Regions from separate parts of the Homo sapiens genome. Here region 1 is linked to region 2. The links are contacts of gene promoters, found by promoter capture Hi-C in human tissues and cell types (Jung and others, 2019). All regions are on one chromosome and are shown on one strand. The core of a region is centred on a gene start or on the middle of the fragment in contact, and the rest is flanking DNA. Distances in the headings are between cores, read along the strand shown. Region 1 overlaps CCDC13 (coiled-coil domain containing 13). Region 2 holds the start of KLHL40 (kelch like family member 40).

Evidence for each region. Contacts are between HindIII fragments. The study calls those that stand out against the background at their distance.
Region 1: a contact is called between a fragment that was not itself captured here and the fragment with the promoter of KLHL40 in region 2, in 2 of the 25 tissues and cell types used here (dorsolateral prefrontal cortex and spleen).

What each region holds. Positions count from the first base shown.
Region 1 is chr3:42,759,687-42,765,146 of GRCh38, forward strand. The region is part of intron 1 of CCDC13 (coiled-coil domain containing 13); the gene reads right to left. Among named protein-coding and RNA genes, the nearest start is that of CCDC13-AS2, 8.2 kb to the right of the region's middle. The HindIII fragment of the contact is 3,761 bases long and covers 396-4,156 here.
Region 2 is chr3:42,683,948-42,686,786 of GRCh38, forward strand. It overlaps KLHL40 (kelch like family member 40), which reads left to right and starts at 1,590. Exons shown (of 6, transcript NM_152393.4): 1 at 1,590-2,823. The coding sequence starts at 1,672. RefSeq lists enhancers at 1-247, 70-364. The HindIII fragment of the contact is 17,953 bases long and covers 1-2,839 here.

The DNA of each region.
Region 1 (5,460 bases), core at 1,026-3,525, 76 kb after region 2:
ACATTCACTTGTTATTGGACATCTGAGCTGTTTCCAGTTTTGGCTATTATGAATAAAGCCGTTATGAACATTCATGTATAAGAAGGTATTTGTGTGAATGTATGTTTTTATTTCTCTTGGGTAAATACATAGAAGTGAAAATTCTGGCTTATATGGTAATTTATGTTTAACTTCATAAGAAACTGCTAAACTGTTTGCCAGAGTGGTTGTACCATTTTACATTCTTACTAGCAATGGGAGTCCCAGTTGCGCCATCCTCGTCAGCATTTAGGCTAGTCAGTCTAAATTTTAGACTTTCTCATTAGTATGTAAAATGGTATCTCAGCCGGGCATGGTGGCTCATCCCTGTAATCCCATCCCTCTAGGAGGCCGAGGTGGGTGGATAAACTGAGGTCAGGAATTCGAGACTAGCCTGACCAACATGATGAAACCCCATCTCTACTAAAAATACAAAATTAGCCAGGCGTGGTGACATGTGCCTGTAATCCCTGCTACTCGGGAGGTTGAGTCAGGAGAATTGCTTGAACCCAGGAGGCAGAGGTTGCAGTGAGCTGAGATCATGCCATTGCACTCCAGCCTGGGCAACAAGAGCAAAATTCTTGTCTCTAAATAAATAAATAAATAAATAAATAAATAAATAAATAAATAGGCAGGGCACAGTGGCTCATGCCTGTAATCCCAACACTTTGGGAGGCTGAGGTGGGTGGATCACCGGAGTTCAGAAGTTTGAGACAAGTCTGGCCAAAATGGAGAAACCCCATCTCTACTAAAAATACAAAAATTAGCTGGGTGTGGTGACACAGGCCTGTAATCCCAGTTACTCAGGAGGCTAAGGCAGGAGAATCACTTGAACCTGGGAGGCAGAGGTTGCAGTGAGTCAAGATTGAGCCATTGCACTCCAGCCTGGGCGAGGTTGCAGTGAGCCAAGATTGCGCCATGGCACTCCAGCCTGGGCGAGGTTGCAGTGAGCCAAGATTGCGCCATGGCACTCCAGCCTGGCCGAGGTTGCAGTGAGCCAAGATTGCGCCATTGCATTCCAACCTGGGTGACAGAGCAAGACTCTGTCTCAAAATAAATAAATAAATAAAATATAAATAAATTAATTAATTAAAATAAAATAAAAATAAAATGGTATCTCAATGTGTTTTTAATTTGTATTTCTCTGTTGACTAGTTATGTTGAGCATCTTTTCATGTGCTTGTTGACCATGTGTATATCTTCTTTTGTGATGTGTCTATTCACATTTTTTGCCCATTTTTAAATTGTATTAGACAATACAATTTACAGTCACAATACAATCACTCACTGTTACTGAATGATCAGTTTCTTGTACATTCTTGATACTTTGTCTGTTTGAACTTCACATAAATGAAATAATAGAGCACAGACACTGGAATTATTAAATGCTCCCCTCACGATTTTAAAGTGTAGCCAGTGGTAAGCATCCCTGCCTTAAACCAACCTCAAGCCACATCATCTACCTATCATCCAATTAATCATAAATCTTGTTTATTTTCCATAAATGTCCTAAAATCTGCCCCCATGTCTCCATTCCCACTGATACCAGGCTCATAACCACCTTGGGGTATCTGCACTTGCTGTTACCTCTCCAGGAATGTCCTTCCCCCAGACATCTACCTTACCTACTTCCTCTCAAATGTCACCTTATCACAGAGGTCTCCTCATATCCTATTGTAGAAGGCATCCCTGCCCTCGCTCCCCATGCCCTTGCCCTGTTTTGTCTTCCTCCATGGCACTGAGAGTCATCTGACACATTATATTTTGATTTGTTTACTTGTTGACTGCCTCTCTCCCTCCCCACCAGCTTCACAATGGCAGGCACTGTGTTGTTCATTGCTGTATCCTCAGTGCCTGTAGCAGGGCCTGGTATATGGCAGGCATGGAATGAATACTTGCTGAACAAATGAATAACATTTGCTGAGGGACAAGTTTCTCTAAACCACAGCTCTGAGCCTGACAGACTCCTGTGCAAAAAGCTTCAGCAGATGCCCCTTAGCCACAAAGCCAAGTCCAATGGCATTAAGCGCTTTGGATTTGGCCTCTGTGTCCTTCTAGCCTGTTTTCCCTTTCATAATGCTAACTTCTAGCTAGTTGTGTTGACTTGCTCCTCTGTTCCTATACCTCCTTCTCCCCCCAAGGCTTAAATCTTGCTGGTCCTCCTACACCCAGCATGAATACCATGGTCCTTTTCTGACCCGCCAGGAGGAATACTCTACCTACCCAAACAGCTTCAACTGCTCTATCTGTACCTTCTTAATATACTTATCTCCATCTCACACACAGGGGTGGTCCCAGAGCCTGTACCCAGTTACTCTTAAACTTGCTTCAATACCAAATCCCCAGGATACAATCTAAAAATGCTGATAACCAGGCCCACCCCTAGAGAATCTGATTTAAATTAGTCTGGAGTGGAGACCAAGCATGGGATGGTTTAACTGCTGCCCAGCTGGTTTTAATGTGCTGTGGGCTGAGCCCAGGGTTTGGCAAAGGTCAAACAAAAGCAGAAGCTGGTGTTATGTTGAAATTCCTTACCAGGCAGCTCTGCCCAGTAAGAGGAACTATAAAGAATTAACTCTGAAAACCTGTATTGTGCACACCCGCACATTCCAAAAAACATGTTTGGCCTTTGACCCGCTCCTAAGAGAGAATCTCTGAGCCCTTGGACCATCCTTCCTGATGAGAGTGTTTTTCTTCACCTGGGGACCTTGGGCCATTCCAGTCCATGTTAATTAACAATGTGATTCATTGCCAGGTGCAGGGTAGGCTGGAGGGGGCTGGAGATCGAGTGACTAAGGTCAACTGTACCTACGTAACCATCTCCTAATAAAAACCCTGGACACCAAGACTCAGGGGAGCTTCCCTGGCTGGCAGTACTCCATGTAAGTTGCCACGAATTGTTTCTGGGAGAAGTAAGTACTGTCAACATGACTCCACTGGGAGAAGACAACTGGAAGCTTGCACCTGGTGTCTCCTGGACTCTGCCCTATGTGTCTCTTTGCTGATTTTGACCCGTATTCTTTCATTGTAATAAACAATACATGTGAGTATAATAGCTGGCCCAAAGGCTATATCCTTTGTTAAAAGATAAACGTTAGGCCAGGCATGATGGCTCACACCTGTAATCCCAGCACTTTGGAAGGCCAAGGTGGAAGCACAGCTTGAGCCCAGGAGGTTGAGACTACAATGAGCTGTGATCGCGCCACTGCACTCTAACCTGGGTGACAGTCAGACCCTGTCTCCAAAATAAAAAAAGAAAAACTTTAAACAAATCAAATTTAACAGAATTCAACTGAGCAAAGAATGATTCACAAATCTAGCAGCCCCCAGAACCAGAACAGATTCAGAGTGACTCCAGGGCTGCCACCTAGTCGAAAAAGATTTATGAACAGAAAAAGGAAAGTGATGAACAGAAAGCACAAGTGAGGTACAGAAACAGCTAGACTGATTACAGCTGGCTGTTTGCCTTTTTTGAATACAATTTGAATAGCTGGCTGCCTGTGATTGGCTGAAACTCTGTGACTGGTACAAGAGTAGATTGCAGTCTGTTTAAATTCCTAGTCAGGTTACAGTTTACTACGTACAGAGAAACCTTTAGGCTGAACTTAGAATATATAAGAAGGCAGCTTTAGGCTACAGTTAGTTTAACACATCCCACAGACATTTTTGTTTGGCTCTTACAGAACACTATGTTAGGATTTGAATTTGTTGCCAACATTCAAAGAATTGTAGTTTCAATATCAGATTTCCAGTGTCAACAAAAACAGTCAAACTCTGTAAAATATTTGAAGAGATGTACTTTTTTTTTTTTTTTTTTTTAGATGAAGTCTCGCTCTGTCACCCAGGCTGGAGCGCAGTGGCACAATCTTGGCTCACTGCAACCTCTGCCTCCTGGGCTCAAGCAATTCTCCTGCCTCAGCCTTCTGAGTTGCTGGGACTACAGGCATGCACCACCACACCCAGATAATTTTTGTATGTTTTTGTAGAGACATGGTTTCACCATGTTGGCCAGGCTGGTCTTGAACTCCTGATCTCAAGTGATCCACCCACCTCAGCCTCCCAAAGTGCTGGGATCACAGGTGTGAGCCACTGCACCCAGTCTGAAGAGATTTATTCTGAGCCAAATGTGAGTGATCATGGCCTGTGACACAGCCCTCAGGAGATCCTGAGACCACGTGCCCAAGGTGGTCAGGGCACAGCTTGGTTTTATACATTTCAGGCAGACCTGAGACATCAATCAAATACATTTAAGATATATACCGATTTGGTCCAGAAAAGCAGGACAACTCCAAGGTTGGGAGGGGGGAGCTTCCAGGTGATAAGTAGATTTAAAATTTTTCTGATTGGTAATTGGTTAAAAGAGTTACTATAAATAGAAAGGAATATCTGGGTTAGAATAAAAGAGATAAAAGTTTTGATCATGCAAATGAAGCCTCCAGGTAGCAGGCTTCAGAGAGAATAGATTGTAAATGTTTCTTATCAGACTTAAGGTCTGTGTTGATGTTAAATGTTGGTCAACTTTTCCTGAATTCCAAAAGGGAGGAGGGTATAATGAGGCGTGTCCAACCCTTGCTTCCCATCAAGGCCTGAACTGGTCTTTCAGGTTAACTTTGGAGTGCCCTGGCTGAGAAGGAAGTCCATTCAGATGGATGGGGGGCCTCTGAATTTTATGTTTAGTTTACACCAGCTTCTTTTATAAAAGTTTACAGATCTGGCAATGCTGGGCCCATCGTCCCACACGGACAGCAGCTGCTATGCAGAGAGTTCCTTTGGTGCATAATAGGTTCTTTCCATTAAACCACTGTCCCTGCCACCTCCAGATGCTGCAGCTGGCACATCAGCTGCCCATTATCACTGCACATAAATGTTGTTCTTTCTCTTAAACCTGCTGGATTCACTTTTATTTCCCATCAGCCACAGCAGATGTTTTGGGTTTGTGGCTCCTGCTGTGGATTAAGCCCAGTGGCATCTCAGAGGCTGGCTTCAGCCACTCCTCTACCTGGGAGGCCTTCCTCCCAGGCCTCCCCATCCCAGCCCTTTACCTTCCCACTAACTCCCAGTTAGCCTCTAGGATTCCCCTCAGGGCACTCTGTGGACTCCCAGAATCCCTAGGGCACCCCTTGATCACTAAACTTAACCTCAGTGTATTATAATTATCTATTATTTTATTTACATTACTTCCCTTTACAAAGAGACCTCTTAAGGGCAGGGGTCCTAATACCTTATTCATTTGCTAAATCTCAACATCTTGCCCAGAACAGGCCTTCAACTGTCATTTGTAGAATTGTCACTGAATGAATGAACACAGTAACTTGTAAAGCTTTTCTCCTTTTCTACTCCCAATTTGCACTTGAAGTCACTGAGGAACTGGTACTCATTGAATGTACACTGTGCCCCAGGCAAATTACTTAACCTCTTTGCTTTCGTTTCCCATTTGTAAAA
Region 2 (2,839 bases), core at 340-2,839:
GCTTGAACCCTGGAGGCGGAGGTTGCAGTGAGCTGAGATTGCGCCATTGCACTCCAGCCTGAGCAACAAGAGCGAAACTCCGTCTAAAAACAAAAGGGACAGAGAGTGATATTGCTGAGATCACAAAAGGGAGGTGACTCAGTCCTAGCCCAGCCTGCTGTCATCTCTCCTATACCCACCCCCTCCCCCACTCCCCCGCCTGACGTTATAAACAAGTGACTCAGAGGAATGATGGGGGTGTGTCTCATAATAGTTCATTCCAATGTCCTGGGGGCTAAATTTAACACACAGCTGCAGCCTCTGGCACTTTGGGAACAAGTTAATCTTGGTGACTGAGGCTGATGTGTGTGTGTGTGTGTGTGTGTGTGTGTCTGGTGGTGGGGCGGGGTGGGGAGGGTGTGGGGAGGGGTGTCAGTAGTCTAGAACAAGGTAGGCATCAAGACTGGCTGTCCTGGGCTTCAACCCTGGTCCCTCAGACCATAGACAAGGTGCAGGGGCCCCATGGCCAGGCAGTCTCAGGTCTGGCCTAATATGCACCAAGAATAGTGAGTATAGATAGCTAAAGTCCTGAAATATTAAACTTGTAGTGTTACTTTTTGAACACTAGAATTCAGAATGTCACTCCCTAGAATGTTAAAACCCCGGGGGTTTAAAAACCTAGAATAGTAGAATCCTAAGAAATTAATTTGCTAGCACATCTGACACCTTAGAAGTGTTAAAACTAATAGTGTACTCCCAGGACACAGTACCTTGGTGCTTCTAAACTTCCAGCAGAGTTGAACTGAGGTCCTTAGCATCTAACTTTGCCACCTCCTCATTGTGTAGGAAGGGAAACTGTGGCTTAACAGAGCGACATGCCCTGCCCCAGGCCTCATAGGAAAGTGGCAACCTTGTTTACCTAAGGTACCTTCTTGCTTTCTTGCAAGGAGGAGGGACAGAAAGAGGAAAAGCTCTTCCCATTTTAAAGGTGAGGCAACGGGGGTGGTGTCTTATGTCTGTAATCTCAGCTACGAGGGAGGCTGAGGCAGAAGAATGGCTTGATCCCAGGAGTTCAAGTCCAGGCTGGACAACATAGTGAGACCCTGCCTCTTAAAATAAAGGCAGGGCAACAGGGCCGCCAAAAAGTGAACACCATGTCCAACTTCTGACCAGAAAACCCAAGCACCCTGTATCCAGGGGTAGCTGGAGTGAGACATATTCCGGGGGGGAAGATGGAGGCACCAGGACAGAAGTTCCCAGAAAGCATGAAGGAAGGGAGACCCTGGAAGAGAGGCTCCAGTGCTTTCCCGTCTCTGGACTGAGGGTCAGAGCTTAGGCCACCTTCTCCCCTAGGGGCATCTCCTGACCAAAGAATCCAGAGTCAAGACCTCTCCGTGCTCCATTTAGAAATGAGGCAGCCAGGCCCTCATCTTTCAGAAGGGCCCAGACACCCCACCCCCGTCCCATAAGCCCCCGGGGCTGAGTCAAGTCTTTCTCTGGGAGGGGGCCTCTGCCCAGCTGTCCCCTGTGCGTCATGTGCAGGAGGCCAGGCGGCTCGCCTTACAGGGACCCGGCCACCTCTATATATAGCCCCTCGAAGACAGCTGCTCAGTCTAAGCAAACCCCAGCAGGAAAGCAGGGGTACAGAGAGGAGCCCCCTTGGCACCGCCACCGCACCCTAGGCCACCCACCATGGCGCTGGGCTTGGAGCAGGCGGAGGAGCAGCGGTTGTACCAGCAGACGCTCCTGCAAGACGGGCTCAAAGACATGCTGGACCATGGCAAGTTCCTCGACTGTGTGGTGCGGGCGGGCGAGCGCGAGTTCCCGTGCCATCGCCTGGTGCTGGCCGCCTGCAGCCCCTACTTCCGGGCGCGCTTTCTAGCCGAGCCGGAGCGCGCGGGCGAGCTGCACCTGGAGGAGGTGTCCCCGGACGTGGTGGCCCAGGTGCTGCACTACCTGTACACATCAGAGATCGCGCTGGATGAGGCGAGCGTGCAGGATTTGTTCGCCGCGGCACACCGCTTCCAGATCCCTTCCATCTTCACCATCTGCGTGTCCTTCCTGCAGAAGCGCCTGTGCCTCTCCAACTGCTTGGCCGTCTTCCGTCTCGGCCTCCTGCTCGACTGCGCGCGTCTCGCCGTGGCTGCCCGCGACTTCATCTGCGCTCACTTCACGCTGGTGGCGCGCGACGCTGACTTCCTCGGACTCTCGGCCGACGAGCTCATCGCCATCATCTCCAGCGACGGCCTTAACGTGGAGAAGGAGGAGGCAGTGTTCGAGGCGGTGATGCGGTGGGCGGGTAGCGGCGACGCCGAGGCGCAGGCTGAGCGCCAGCGCGCGCTGCCCACCGTCTTCGAGAGCGTGCGCTGCCGCTTGCTGCCGCGCGCCTTTCTGGAAAGCCGCGTGGAGCGCCACCCTCTCGTGCGTGCCCAGCCCGAGTTGCTGCGCAAGGTGCAGATGGTGAAGGATGCACACGAGGGCCGCATCACCACGCTGCGGAAGAAAAAGAAGGGGAAGGATGGAGCCGGGGCCAAGGAGGCTGATAAGGGCACAAGCAAAGCCAAAGCAGAGGAGGATGAGGAGGCCGAACGTATCCTTCCTGGGATCCTCAATGACACCCTGCGCTTCGGCATGTTCCTGCAGGATCTCATCTTCATGATCAGTGAGGAGGGCGCTGTGGCCTACGATCCAGCAGCCAACGAGTGCTACTGTGCTTCCCTCTCCAACCAGGTCCCCAAGAACCACGTCAGCCTGGTTACCAAGGAGAACCAGGTCTTCGTGGCTGGAGGCCTCTTCTACAACGAAGACAACAAAGAGGACCCCATGAGCGCATACTTCCTGCAGGTGCCTGACCAGCCTT